Regions from separate parts of the Homo sapiens genome. Here all the other regions are linked to region 4. The links are contacts of gene promoters, found by promoter capture Hi-C in blood cells and fetal thymus (Javierre and others, 2016). All regions are on one chromosome and are shown on one strand. Each heading gives the region's core, a stretch centred on a gene start or on the middle of the fragment in contact. The rest is flanking DNA. Distances are from core to core; before and after follow the strand shown. Region 1 overlaps SLC22A23 (solute carrier family 22 member 23). Region 2 overlaps SLC22A23 (solute carrier family 22 member 23). Region 3 has its middle 1.6 kb from the start of RIPK1. Region 4 holds the start of PRP4K (pre-mRNA processing factor kinase PRP4K). Region 5 overlaps RIPK1 (receptor interacting serine/threonine kinase 1).

The links. The method cuts DNA at HindIII sites, captures the fragments that hold promoters and counts their contacts. A CHiCAGO score of 5 or more calls a contact.
Region 1: a contact is called between a fragment that was not itself captured here and the fragment with the promoter of PRP4K in region 4, in 3 of 17 cell types (total B cells, activated CD4 T cells and total CD4 T cells). The highest score is 6.8, in total B cells.
Region 2: a fragment that was not itself captured here is called in contact with the fragment with the promoter of PRP4K in region 4 in 1 of 17 cell types (total CD4 T cells); the score reaches 5.3 in total CD4 T cells.
Region 3: a fragment that was not itself captured here is called in contact with the fragment with the promoter of PRP4K in region 4 in 3 of 17 cell types (total CD8 T cells, fetal thymus and activated CD4 T cells); the score reaches 7.4 in total CD8 T cells.
Region 5: a contact is called between a fragment that was not itself captured here and the fragment with the promoter of PRP4K in region 4, in 1 of 17 cell types (total CD8 T cells). The highest score is 6.1, in total CD8 T cells.

What each region holds. Positions count from the first base shown.
Region 1 is chr6:3,272,790-3,275,489 of GRCh38, forward strand. It overlaps SLC22A23 (solute carrier family 22 member 23), which reads right to left. Exons shown (of 10, transcript NM_015482.2): 10 at 1-623. The coding sequence ends at 266. Among named protein-coding and RNA genes, the nearest start is that of PSMG4, 15 kb to the left of the region's middle. The HindIII fragment of the contact is 825 bases long and covers 842-1,666 here.
Region 2 is chr6:3,348,146-3,350,964 of GRCh38, forward strand. The region is part of intron 3 of SLC22A23 (solute carrier family 22 member 23); the gene reads right to left. Among named protein-coding and RNA genes, the nearest start is that of PSMG4, 91 kb to the left of the region's middle. RefSeq lists an enhancer at 1,018-2,819. The HindIII fragment of the contact is 2,265 bases long and covers 220-2,484 here.
Region 3 is chr6:3,065,499-3,068,198 of GRCh38, forward strand. It overlaps a transcript of RIPK1 not described here. Among named protein-coding and RNA genes, the nearest start is that of RIPK1, 1.6 kb to the right of the region's middle. The HindIII fragment of the contact is 752 bases long and covers 989-1,740 here.
Region 4 is chr6:4,019,997-4,022,887 of GRCh38, forward strand. PRP4K (pre-mRNA processing factor kinase PRP4K) reads left to right here and starts at 1,304. Exons shown (of 15, transcript NM_003913.5): 1 at 1,304-1,470. The coding sequence starts at 1,430. LOC124901245 (a long non-coding RNA gene) reads right to left here and starts at 1,171. Exons shown (of 2, transcript XR_007059415.1): 1 at 1-1,171. RefSeq lists enhancers at 1,135-1,444, 2,487-2,546. The HindIII fragment of the contact is 11,601 bases long and covers 1,182-2,891 here.
Region 5 is chr6:3,105,105-3,107,804 of GRCh38, forward strand. It overlaps RIPK1 (receptor interacting serine/threonine kinase 1), which reads left to right. Exons shown (of 11, transcript NM_001354930.2): 9 at 378-947. It overlaps LOC107986556 (a long non-coding RNA gene), which reads right to left. Exons shown (of 4, transcript XR_001743928.3): 3 at 2,698-2,700; 4 at 318-1,687. Among named protein-coding and RNA genes, the nearest start is that of BPHL, 12 kb to the right of the region's middle. The HindIII fragment of the contact is 607 bases long and covers 972-1,578 here.

The DNA of each region.
Region 1 (2,700 bases), core at 4-2,503, 750 kb before region 4:
AAAGTGCTTCTCGTAAAAATGACCAAAATAAATACACACATTTAACGGCAGAAAAGAAAGTCTTGAAAGGGTTATTTCCAAAGAGTTTGTCTCCTCCGACCCGCGCTCCTTGGACTTTTGGAAAGACAGGATTTCCCCACACCAGTTGAGAGGCTCAGCTTGGCTGAGGCAGCTTTCCCACCCCTGGCTGCGTGTTCGGTCCCTGGTCTGTAAACCTGTGCCCAAGCTGCCCCAGACCCTGGAGCCCCGGGTTCCGCAGGCCGGGCTACATGGCCTTCATGCCGTTGGCCGTGGCACCCTCGGGCAGTGTGTCACCCGCGGCTGCGGCATCGTGGAGGCCCGAGTAGTCCTTGAGCTCGGCGTTGGTGAGCAGCAGTGGCTGCTCCCCCTTCTTGTGCGGCAGCAGCGGCTGGCGCGTGTAGTGCTCCCCGTTAGAAATGTTCTCAGGCAGGTTCTGGTCCCTGCTCTCGGGCAGCAGGAGGATGCAGATGATGCAGATGAGCGTGCAGCAGGCAAAGATGATGTGGTGCAGGAAGTAGCCTTTCTGGTTGTGCAGCTCGATGATGGGTGCCGTCAGCATGCCGAAGCCCGCGCTGGCCAGCACCAGCCCCAGCCCGCCACACCTGCAGGGGGAGGGAAGCACAGGGATTGCTGCTGTGGGCTAGCGGGCTGGATCCCGGGAAAGCTCGGGGTGGACCAGGAAGCCACCTCTGCAGGGGCCCTGCTGCCCTGGGCACTGCCCAGTATACCCCGACCTCACACGTCCCATGTCACCAGCACCCTGGCTGTGTCTGTACAAGGCCACTCTACGGCAGTGACTGTTTTTCCTCATCAAATCAAAAGCTTTTACTTAATTTATCTTTTTCTTTAATGTTTCCTATTTTTATTGTTTTTTCAGGGCTGGGGACCATGAGAACTTTATTTTGAAAGGCAGCCTTATATAATACTACTGTAAATGGGAAGCTGATATTACTTGCCATAAGTAGTATACAAGGAAAAACAAAAGGGATTGAAATTATGCCATTTCCTGAAGGCCTGGGGGATTACCAAGGGTTAAAGAGGGTACTAAGGACATACCAACACGAACAGAGACTTTCTCTTTGTCATAACTGGAGAGACTGCAAGATACTTTAAAAGAGTAGTTTCCTCACTGTGAGTTGATGGCCCACGTGTCTCCTGAAATTGCTCACATACCACCATTGGAAACGGTCCCATCTCTGAGGATTGTGCCTGAAGGGTCCCCCAAATGAAGCTGTGCACTGACAGAGAGGAACTCACTGCAGCTCTGAGCTCAGGATAACCAAAGTCCAGAAGGCAAGCCATTGATTTCCACTCCCTGCCTTGTACGGGAGCAGCCAAGAGTCCCAGGGATTAGTAGATACGCAAAACTTACAGAACCCCTATCCCTCAAACCTCTCCACTTTGACCTAAAAACACATTACTGGGACAAAGGTGTTCTGTGGCCCCTGAGAAAGCAGTGCTGTACCAGGCTGCAGTGGGACCGTGGCGCTCAGGTGTCAGGCCAGGCTAGAGAGGGCTGCCTGGTCCCCAGTTCTGGGGCCTCATTGAAGGAGGTAGGCAGAGGTGGCCTTGTCTCAAGGAAGAGGGAGTGGAGTTGTGTGCCTCGCTCCACAGCAGCAGGTAGACTGGTCCTTTGGTTTGGGGAAGCTTTCTAATGGGCTGCTCGTTAGGCACCCCCTTGAAGTGAAGAGGGCTGTATCCTTTGAACTGCTGAGGCTGAGTGGGCTGAAAGGGAGGTCCCTGCAACAGGTAGGAGGCAGGTAGATAACTCCAGCTCTTGACTAGTCTGTGGTTCTCTTGGTTGGCACTATAGGTAGCTCCTAACTCACCAAAAGACTGTCCTACAAGGTCACAAGATAAAAGATCAACATACAAAAGTCAATTATATGTCTACGTGCTAGCAACACCCAAAAATGAAAATGCCATTCACAATAACATCCAATGAATAAAATGTTTAGAAATAAATAACAAAGGAATGCAAGACTTGTATGCTGAAAAAGATAAAACATTGCTGAAAATTAAAAGATAAAAATAAATGGAGTGACATTCCATGTTCATGAATTAGAAGACTAAATATTATAAAGATGGTAATTTTTCCCAAATTGATCTATACATTCCACATAATCCCTATCAAAATTCCAGGTGACTTTTTTTTTTTTTCAGAAAACAGCCAATTCTAAAATTTATATGGAAATGCAAAAGACTCAGAGTAGTCAAAAACAATTTTGGAAAAGAACAAAGAAGGCTTGCCTTCCCAGTTTCAAAACTATAAAGCCATACGGCTTAAGGCAGTGTGGTGTTGGTGTATATATCAATAGATCAATGGAACAGAACTGGGAGTTCAGAAACTAACCTTCACATTTATGGTCAACTGACTGTAGATGGAGGCAAATCCAGTGAGGGGGAAGGGATAGTTTTTTCAACAGGTGGTGCTGGGACAACAGGATATTCATGTGCAAAAGAATGATGTTGGACCCTTCACATCATGTAAAAAAATGAACTCAAAATGGATAATAAAATCTAAGTGCTTAACTTAGCTCAAACTATAACGCTTCTAGAAGAAAACAAGAGAAAAGCTTTATGACGTTGGGTTAGGCAAAGATTTCTTACACATAACATCAAAAGTAGGATCCATAAAAGAAAAAGCTGATCAATTGGACTTCATTAGGATTAAAAACT
Region 2 (2,819 bases), core at 102-2,601, 670 kb before region 4:
ATTCTTTTTGTTTTCTTCAGTCCCAACCCTCTAATCCTTGGTGCCTGCACGTTCCACGATTCCATGCTTGGGGACGGAAGGATGTGGGGATGTGGGGAAGTGAGGAAGGGAATTGGTTTCTGACCATGGCCTGGAACAGCTACTACAACGGAGGGGTCTGGCCTCTGAACCAAAGCCTAGGCGCCATCTTTCCTGGAGCAGGAGCTGTATTTTTCTACAAGCTTCTGTTTTCTCTTCTTACCTGAGCTTTGGGTGACTTGTGGCCATCTGCTCAGAGTGACAATAGCAGTCTGCATTGTGTTTATCTTGCTCTCAGTTTCTTTATTTAGCAAGGCCACTGTCTTCTTACTGAGTCCCATCTGCACCTAAGTGAGTGCACACTATAGAATCCGGCCCTGTTGATGGAAAAATGCAGCCCACCATTCGGCACTTACTAGCCTGGCAATCACACGAGCATCCACCACATTCCCGGCACGGAGCTGGGTGTGGTGCCCTTCCCAACTCCTAGGACCTGACCCACCCAACACCTGAGGCCAGATACTTCACCCCTAGCGGCTGCTCATTCAACCCAAGATCCAACTAGCAAACTGTCCAAGGAAAACAGAGCTTCAAACCTTCCAGCTGCAGAAAGTCACCAAATCTTACAGCAAGCATCCTGGGTCACAAGGAGACAAACCCTTCCCAGCCAACGGACCGGGTCCCCATGACCCAGAGCCAGGGCAGGGAGGGCTTAGGAATTTAGAGGCTTTGCCTCAGAGGAGAGTCAACTGGTACTGTCTTCCCTTCCAACTGTCTCTCCAGCGTTCATCACCACTCTGGAAATAGTCATCTTTCATAACCCCTTCAGAAGAGTAAACAGTGTCTCCCTCTGGGTAAACCAGAAAGCCACAAAGCCTCCCCTGAGCAGGATGACAAGGAAGGGGGATGCTCCTCTGCTTCTGCCCTCAAGGACAGCTGCCTTTTCTGCAAACAGCTGGGTGATGGGGTGCTTCCCACTGGGGCCAACTGGCCGCGGGGCACTTCTCCCTGCTCTTCGTTCCTCCCTGCCAAAGCCTGCAGAACCCTCGAGGAAGCCTGCCCTAGCCACCAAGCAGCTCAGCACTGAGCTGGGGCTTCGGACTGGGCAGTCAGAGCCCCAAACACCTTTCTGTCTCCTACCTGTCTTTCTTCCTCCCCACTTCCTGGGGACCTAAGAGGCAGCCTCTCTCTCCCTATCCCACCTACCCGAGGACTCTTCGGCCAAATTGACTCCTACCACCAAATCCCAATGCCAACCCCGAGGCAAGCCCTGTGGCCCCTGGAGTTTCTGGAACCCTCTCTAGAATGTGGTTCAACCATAGGGCATCCCCTGCAGGCCCTGAATTATTATAGTACCAAAATATACCTTCCTTCCTCCTCCACCTCCTCACAGCCTAGTTTGCAGTTAGGCTAACCGTCACAGCTGGCATGAGCTGTTTTCATCAGATTAAAATGCATGGCCCTTCTTCCCACACACTATTGTATTTCTGTTTGGTGAAGAATATTGAATACTCAACCACCCAAGTGCTTTAAATATCACTGAATCTCAGGAGGTGGAAGAGCAGAGTGGAGAAGATGAATTATTTGAACTACTCAGAAATAAGCCTAACATGAAAGCAGGAAATTCATATGAAGTGGGCAGTGCCTCAAGCAACCTGATATCTTCAGGAAAGATAAGGTGGTGGCTTATTGCTCCCATCGCTCTCTGATCACAGACCTGGGACAGAGCACCTCTTCCAGGGCTCTTGATTCCTGTGATACACGAAGGCAGATGATCACGGTCGCCTTCATCCCCTCTTGGGGGCTAAGTACATTCACAGTCCCTTGGTTCTTGGTCTTTGTGTCCTTTGAAGCACATAAAAGTCTGGTGGATGAGTAGGACCATGGTTGATAGAAAATTATTTCCCAGTACTGCACAGCATAGTGACTCAGCATGCATGCACACACACACCCCAAATTTTCATGAAACGATACTTAACCCTTATTGTGTGTGATGCACTTAATTCTATTTTTTTCTTTAAAAATGCTGGGCAGGACCCACCCGATGGATTCTATAACCCTTAACCCAAGCCCTAATGTGTCATAAACTACAGTTTTAAAAGCTGCTCTAAAGTAGGGTTGGAAAACTATGACCCTCGGGCCAAATCCTGCTGAAGGCTGCTGTTTTTGTACAATGCACTGCCTGATTTTATTCAGCTCGTCCCTAAGAATGGACATTTTTAAATGGTTCAAGACAACCAAAAGATGAATAATATCTCTTGTGTGAAGTTTATGTGAAATTGAAATTTTAGTGTCGACAAATGCGGCTTTTGTGGAATGCGGTCACACTCATTCACCTCCAGATTGTCCATGGCTGCTGTTGCAGTAGCAGGGAGTAGTAGGTGGGGCAGAGACCGTATGGCCTGCACAGCCCAGAATATTCATGTTCTGGCCCTTTGCAGAAAACTTGGCCCATGCCTGCTCTGAAGCTTTGACAGCTGCAGGCTGGATTAACTGATCCATTCGTCAAACTGGTTGTCAGAGCCAGCATGTTTTAGTTATCCTTCAGTTTCTAACAGAAAAATCAGCATTATTACTTAAAAAATGCAAATGGTGATTTTTATTATGAGAGCAGATTCCTCAAGGGAGACGGAGTTATTTTCACATCAGAGAGAGAAAACAAATGGAATTTCTTGGTGGTAATGGGGAGCTGGTCTCACTGCCCTTCTCACTCCCATTCTGAGGTCAATCATCTTGTATCTTCAAAGGGCACTTGAATTTTTAATCATCTTCTCTTATTGACGCATTTAATTTGTGGTGAA
Region 3 (2,700 bases), core at 115-2,614, 950 kb before region 4:
AAATGTGGGCGTAGAGGGCAGGCCTTGGAGATGGGTGTGGGGGAGGAGGGGGAGATGGAAAGGAGTCAGGGAGGTCTCCCAGGCTCACCTGGAGGAGTCAGGGTCTCATTTCCAAGTGCACTGGGAACTGCAGCCTGGGGGTGGGGGTTCATTTGGTTTCAGGCCTGTGGCCAAGAGACCTACCCCCTCATATTCACACTTTGGCCTCCACGGGCTTCAGAGATAGTACCAGCTCTTTGTTCTCGCTGGTTTTCTTTCCTCACCTTGGGCTGTTTCTTGCCTTTTCCATTCTGGTGTTCTGCAAGGACCAGTTCCTTCATCTCATGCACAGTCTACACTCATGGCTTTTGCTGGGAGTAATGAGTAAAGCTCCCAAATAGATGTTTCTGAGTTAAAACACTGAACACAAAATGAAGCAAAAACAACGCATTTCCAACCTCCCAAGGTCACATGATGTCTAGAGGACAGTGATGGGCAATAACTTTTTGTCTTCCCCATTAGAATGCAAGCTCCACGAATGGAACGTGGAGTTTTTTATTTTTTATTGTTTTTTGAGACGGAGTCTGGCTCTGTCACCCAGGCTGGAGCAATCTTGGCTCACTGCAACCTCCGCCTTCTGGGTTCAAGCAATTCTCCCGCCTCAGCCTCCTGAGTAGCTGGGTCTACAGGCATGCACCACCACGCCCAGCTAATTTTTGTATTTTTAGTAGAGACGAGGTTTCATCATGTTTGCCAGGCTGGTCCGGAACCCCTGAGCTCAGGCAATCCGCCCGACTTGGCCTCCCAAAGTGCTAGGATTACAGGTGTGAGCCACTACACACGGCCAGAACATAGAGATTTTTTGTGTTTAATTCACAACCGAGTCTTCAGTGCCTAGAACAGGTGCTCAGTAAATATTTACTGAAGGAATGAATTCCTTTTTGTATTTCTTGTATCTATCACCAGATGCTCTTGTATCTAGTACCTGCTTGGCATACAGTAGATAGAAAGCTTTGCTGAGTGAATAGCTCTGCCTTTCGTCTTTTTTGATATGTGTACATCTTTTAAAAAATAATGAATAGACTTTGTTTTAGAGCTGTTTTGGTTTACAGCAAAACTAAGCAGAAAGAAAATATCCCCTTCCACAAACATCCTGGACTGTACAGCCTCCCCTACCATCAACATCCTGCATTACTGTGGAATATTTGTCACACCTGATAAACCAACATAGATTCATGGTTACAAAAATGAACCAATATGGATAAAACATATACATTATCAGCCAAAGTCCGGAGTTTGTTAGGTTTTGCTCTTTGTGTATATTCAAGATACATTTGACAAATGTATAGAGATGTACCCAACCCTGTAACGTCAGACTCCACTGCCCTAAAAATCCCTTGTGCCTCACCTATCCATCCCTCCTTCCCTGCAAATCCCTGGCAGCCGCTGATCTTTTTTACTATCTCCGTAGTTTTTCCTTTTCCAGAATGTCACATAGTTGGAATCATGCATTATGTAGTCTTCTCAGATTGGCTTCTTTCACTTAGATTTATACATTTAGGATTGCTCCAGGATTTTTTTTTTTTTTTTTTTTTTTGTGGCTTCAGAGCTCATTTCTTTTTAGCACTTAATATTCCATTGTATAGATGTACCACAGCTTATCTGTCCACCCATTAAGTGATATCTTGGATGCCCTCAAGTTTTGGCAATTATGAATAAAGCTGCTATAGACATTCTTGTACAGGTGTTTGTATGGGCATAAGCTTTCAACTCGTTTGGGTAAATACCAAGGTGTGGAGTTGCTTCATCTTATGGTAAGAAGAGCTTGGTTAAGAAATTGCCAAAATGTCTTCCAGACTCTAACATTAGGCATTCCCACTAGGAATGTATGGGAGTTCCTTGTGCTCCAGATCCTCATCAACATTTGTTGTTGTCAGTGTTCTGAATTTTAGCCATTCTAATAAATGTGTAATAGTATTTGTTTTTTTAAATTGCAATTCTTTAATGACATGATGTTGAGCATCTTTTCATATGCATATACATATGGTGAGGTGTATGTTCAGAGCTTTTGCCCGCCTTTAATCAAGTTGTACATTTTCATATTGTTGCATTTTAAGAGGGTTTTTTTTGGTATATTTTGGGTCACAGTGCTTTATCAGATATGTCTTTTGCAAATATTTTCTCCCAGTCTGTGGCTCGTGTTGTGAACGTGGCTAGTTCTCTTGACATACATATCTTTTCACAGTATGTAATCCTGTTGTGCTTTTTTTTTTTTTCCTTTTGAGACGGAATCTTGCTCTTGTCACCCAGGCTGGAGTGCAGTGGCGCGATCTCGGCTCACTACAATCTCCACCTCCCAGGTTCAAGGGATTCTCCTGCCTCAGCCTCCCGAGTAGCTGGGATTGCTGGTGCCCGCCACCACGCCCAGTTGATTTTTGTATTTTTTAGTAGAGATGGGGTTTCACCATGTTGGCCAGGCTGGTCTCGAACTGCTGACCTCAAGTGATCCGCCCGCCTTGGCTTCCCAAAGTGCTGGGATTACAGGCGTGAACAACCGCGCCCGGCCTGATGTGCATATAATTTTATTATTTGATTTTTAATATACATGAATAGCATGCAGTTCCAACTTTGCTCGAGACTTCACAATTACCATTTTAAAGGGCTGCAAAATAATCACATTTCCTCCTCAACAGCCCCACTTTACAGATGAAGGTAGAGGAA
Region 4 (2,891 bases), core at 54-2,553:
GTTTCGCTATGTTGGCCAGGCTGGACTCGAACTCTTGAGTTCAGGCAATCCGCCCGCCTCGGCCTCCCAAAGTGCTAGAGGATTGCAGGCGTGAGCCACCGCGCCCGGCCCTAACATTTCAAAACGTTTGGAATTCAGGCAACAAGAGACATTTTGTAAGAACATTTAAAACCCTTCTCCCCTGGAAATCAAGAGATATGTATGGAGTCTGGAGATTCCGAACTCAATTTTCTAGGACAAAGGCAAACTCAGATGATTACAAGAATGAAAGTGATCGTCACGCTGCTTCCAGGTTCCAAAGTATGGATAATTTTTTTTTTTTTTTTGAGATGGAATCTTGCTCTGTCGCCCAGGCTGGAGTGCAGTGGCGTGATCTCAGTGCAAACTCCGCCTCTCGGGTTCAAGCGATTCTCCTGCCTCAGCCTCCGGAGTAGCTGGGATTATAGGCGAGCGCCACCACGCCCAGCTAATTTTTTGTATTTTTAATAGAGACGGGGTTTCACCATGTTGGCCAGGCTGGTCTCCAAATCCTGGCCTCAGGTGATCCGCCCGCCTCGGCCTCCCAAGGTGCTGGGATTACAGGGGTGAGCCACAGCGCCAGGCGAGAAATATTTTTTTAAAGAGGAATTAAAGAACCTAATTGGTTTTGAGAGTTCTCCAAGAGCCAGTAAATGTTTTCCCCACAATATTCCATTCTACCCCATTACTGTAGAGTCGTTATAGAAGAAAACAAAATCACATAACGCAACTTGGGCCAAAAAACATTACACGTTCCAATTACGGAAATAACGAACTGAATCGTGTCACCCTTGAACTATGTAAAAGTTGAAAAGATGTTCAGTGTTAAATGTAGTAACAGTTCCACATTAAAAGATATTTACGTTCGAGTTTACAGTATTTAAAAATGCCTTTCTACACACTTTCCCGGGAAGTTAATGCCACTTCAGTTGAGCTGTCTAGCGAGATGGTTAAGCATTTACTGTGTCTCTAACACCGACCAGGGGAAAAATCATCAATTCGTTTGCCCGAGTTTAAGAGAATTTTCACCTAACTTCTAATCTCCACAGCCAATCAGTTCTTGGAACCGCACACCCGATGCCGACATCCCTCTCTTGTTGGCTCCCCTCGTTAGCGGGATTCAATAACTAAACGTCCATTTCTAGCATTGACTGAAGAGCTCAAGCTTGACACTCGACCTCAATCCTTAGCAGCACCGCCCACCATGCTCCCGGAAGCTGCGACACTACGCCCTGCGCTAGTCCCGGGACGTGGGGTTTTATATCCGGATTCTTAGCGCGGACTCAGAACCCAGCTCTTCCCTACACGGTCGGCACATGCGCGGCAGCTCTTTTCCTTCTTCCTCCACTTCCCCTACCCTCCACCGTCCGGGAGCCGCCGCCACCGCCGCCGAGGAGTCAGGAAGTTCAAGATGGCCGCCGCGGAGACCCAGTCGCTACGGGAGCAGCCAGAGTAAGTAGTCTCTGTGAGTGGGCCAGAAGCTGGAGCCCGGGGACTGCCGAGTGGGAGCTGCACGGGGTGGCGGGAAAGTTCGGGCCTAACGGCGAGAGTCAAACTTTGCTTTTTCCGGCGCGATTCGTTGTGGGGTGGGAGGCATGGGGAGCAGGCGGCCTTCGAGCTTCCTTCTCCCAGAGGCCGTGGCTGCTGGGGTGAAGGCGGCCGCGGCCTGCCGCGCGTCGTTGCCCCGGGAGGCGTAGGCGCGAGCGGCCTCTACAGGTCCGGTGCGCGTGGCGGCTGCCGCGGCAGTGAGGTCGCGCTTTCCTATGCCTCTTTTGGGGACCCATCTGAGCTCCCTGGCCGCAGCTCTTAGCGGCATCTGTGTTGGGGACACGAGGGTCAGTGGCAGCAGGCGGGCCAAGCCCTAAGTCTTTTCTTCCTCATGCGGTACCCCCAGTCGTCCTTTTACTGGTGTCAGTTTAGGACCTGAAAGCAGAGAGCGGAGGTGCTGGGGTCACACTCTCTGGCCATCCCAGAGCTAGTCTGTGGCTAGCGGGATACTTGATCTCGTCACCTTGTACTCTTTAGTCCAGCAGTCACCCAGTATTGTTTTGTTTTGTTTTGAGTGCCTACCGGCAGCTTTTTTACCAACTTGCAAACTTGAGGCAAAGTAAGATAGAGTCTTTGGTTTTGAGGCCTGGCATTTTTTTTTTTTTTTTTTTTTTGCCTGAGTTTATAACCCTTCTTTAGGAGGACGAGTGGAAGGAGTAGTGGGAATTGCTAGCTACTGCCAAACCACTTTATGTCTATAATTAAGCTAACATTAAGAATCCATGCGGCCAAATGAAAAATGAAAAAAAAAAAAATACGAGTGTATGCTGCAAAGGTTAACCATTGGTTAACTTAAAGCAGTATTTTGCTGTTCATGTCTATGTTAGGAAAACTCAAACAAGAACCTTAACAGAGAGAATGGATTTTACGGCAATGTTCCTATAGCGACCGTTTTTTTTTTTTGTTTTGTTTTTTGTTTTTTTTTGCATCTGCACTGTCTGATCTGTTTCCAGCCATCTTAGAAAGAGGTATAGTCTCCCAGCAACTTGTGACTGAGCGATAGAAGAAATCTTTGCCACCAGACAACCTGACACTTAATTGCTGTGCATCCAGTTTTGGGCTCCTCAATCATCTGCATTACTCAGCTAGGCAGAGAAACGGAATTTTTAATTAAGGGCTTTTCAAAACTGCTGTATTATTTTTACAATTTGACTTAGCAGAGAACAAATGGATTCTGAAGTTTTAAATTAGCTTTAACCTCTTACTGTTTCTCACCAAGTTCATTGTGTGGCACAATTACAGTGTTTATGCCAGTACCGTGCAGATCTCATGCTATGTGGTTACATTTTCTACTAATCTGAAAAGTTCTGTAATATTATGTCCAT
Region 5 (2,700 bases), core at 25-2,524, 910 kb before region 4:
GCCTCCCAACGTGCTAGGATTACAGGCGTGAGCCACCGCACCCAGCCACAGATCTTATTTTCCACCTGAATTGCTCCAAGGAGACAACCACCTTCTCTGCTCCAAACCAAGTCCCTTTTTTCCTTGATCATCCCTGCAACAGCCGCTTTTCTCTTGCTTGCTATAATTTTCCTAGTACTCTCTTACTGCCAGCGAGGAGCTCCTATTATTATTTGTAAAGCTTGTGGGAAGAGGACCATCTCCTAAATGCTTTGGACTGGTCTCGTACTTGTTTTCTGTGTGTTACTTTGAGATACAGATTCATGACGGCGCTCAGATTTTATTTTACTTTTTAATGTTTCATGACACCCATTCTAATGTTGATCATTTCTTCTCAGCCACAGAACAGCCTGGTTCACTGCACAGTTCCCAGGGACTTGGGATGGGTCCTGTGGAGGAGTCCTGGTTTGCTCCTTCCCTGGAGCACCCACAAGAAGAGAATGAGCCCAGCCTGCAGAGTAAACTCCAAGACGAAGCCAACTACCATCTTTATGGCAGCCGCATGGACAGGCAGACGAAACAGCAGCCCAGACAGAATGTGGCTTACAACAGAGAGGAGGAAAGGAGACGCAGGGTCTCCCATGACCCTTTTGCACAGCAAAGACCTTACGAGAATTTTCAGAATACAGAGGGAAAAGGCACTGCTTATTCCAGTGCAGCCAGTCATGGTAATGCAGTGCACCAGCCCTCAGGGCTCACCAGCCAACCTCAAGTACTGTATCAGAACAATGGATTATATAGCTCACATGGCTTTGGAACAAGACCACTGGATCCAGGAACAGCAGGTCCCAGAGTTTGGTACAGGCCAATTCCAAGTCATATGCCTAGTCTGCATAATATCCCAGTGCCTGAGACCAACTATCTAGGAAATACACCCACCATGCCATTCAGCTCCTTGCCACCAACAGGTAAATGGGTCTTCGATAGTCACAAGCTTGTCTTTTTTTATTTTTCAGAAAATACAGCAACCAAGCAGCTCTATTATAGATTGTGGGTTATAATGGGGACAGAGGGCATCATCAGCTGCCAGATGCAAATTGCCCCTGTGGAATGGACCCTGCCAAACCACTTGGTCTGGGAGTATTTCATCTGGGGCTAGGATTCATCACAGATGCCCGCAAGCATCGGGTTACAGGTCCTTGTGACTGGCAGGCATCTTTGACTCTAACCTGGAGTGCATAGTAGTCCTATTTCACCCAATCTCTGATAAATGGGAAGTTATCTGCTTATTTGCTTTTACCTTGCTTGCTACTTTTTGAAGGTAAGAAATCAGTCTTGGATATTTTTGTTTCTGACCTTATATAGCTCAAAGACTACCATTAGTGATGAAAAATTTTCTTTTAACTCCCATATCTCTATCAGGTGAAGTAAAAGGTAGGTGATAGTAGTTACTGGCAGTCTAGAATGGAAGTGAGTTAATGTAATATCCAGCATTTTTATCAAATAATACTCACCAACATCACCTTAACTACCTGAACAGCATCTACCAATGATACCCACAGGTGTCCTGGAGATCTTGAAATCATCTCAGGTAGAGGAAGCTTTCAGAACCACAGAGCTTAGTTACATTTTCTTTCAAAAGGCCAAATTCTCCAAAAACGTCCTATGCAAACATCCTCGATTTCTTCCATAGGTTTTATGATAAGATCTGTAGAATGCAAAATATTGGATTAGACATTAAGCAGTATCCAAGTCATGTATAATCCTATGAGCAGAATGTCCTTTTGTTTCCTTCATGTTGGGGATAAAATTTTTTATTAGTATTGCCATATCATTTTATTCATTCATGATTAAGTCAATAAAAATTTCAGCTGGGGCCATGGTTGGCCAGGTGTGGTGGCTTATGCCTGTAATCTCAGCACTTTGGGAGGCTGAGGTGAGTGGATCACTTGAGGCCAGGAGTTCGAGACCAGCCTGGCTAACATGGTAAAACCCTGTCTCTACTAAATAATACAAAAATTAGCCAGGCGTGGTGGCGCATGCCTTTAGCCCCAGCTACTAGGGAGGCTGAGGCAGGAGAATCACTTGAACCCTGGAGACAGACGTTGCAGTGAGCTGAGATCATGCCACTGCACTCCAGCCTGGGCAACAGAGTGAGATTGTGTCTCGAAAAAAAAAAAAAAATTCCACTGGCTGGGCACAGTGGCTCACGCCTGTAATTCCAGCACTTTGGGAGGCCGAGGTGGGAAGATCACGAGGTCAGGAGATTGAGACCATCCTGGCTAACACGGTGAAACCCCGTCTCTACTAAAAATACAAAAAAAAAAAAAAAAAAGCTGGGCATAGTGGCGTGCGCCTGTAATCCCAGCTACTTGGGAGGGTGAGGCAGGAGAATCACTTGAACCCGGGAGGCAGAGGTTGCAGTAAGCCGAGATTGCACCACTGCACTCCAGCCTGGGTGACAGAGCGAGACTGTCGCAAAAAAAAAAAAAAAAAAAAAAAAATTCCAAAACTCTTCCCACTTTGTGACGTGCAGTTCTCCAGGCACTGGAGCTATAACTGAACAAACAGCCTGAGTCCCTTCCCTCACACAGTTTAAATCCTAGTGGACAGAAGGCAGACCCTAAACCAATATTTAATGTGTCATTTTTTATCTTTTTTCTACATGAGCAACCCAAATACACCCGTTTAGTGCCAGAAATCTCTTTGTGTTTTCACCTC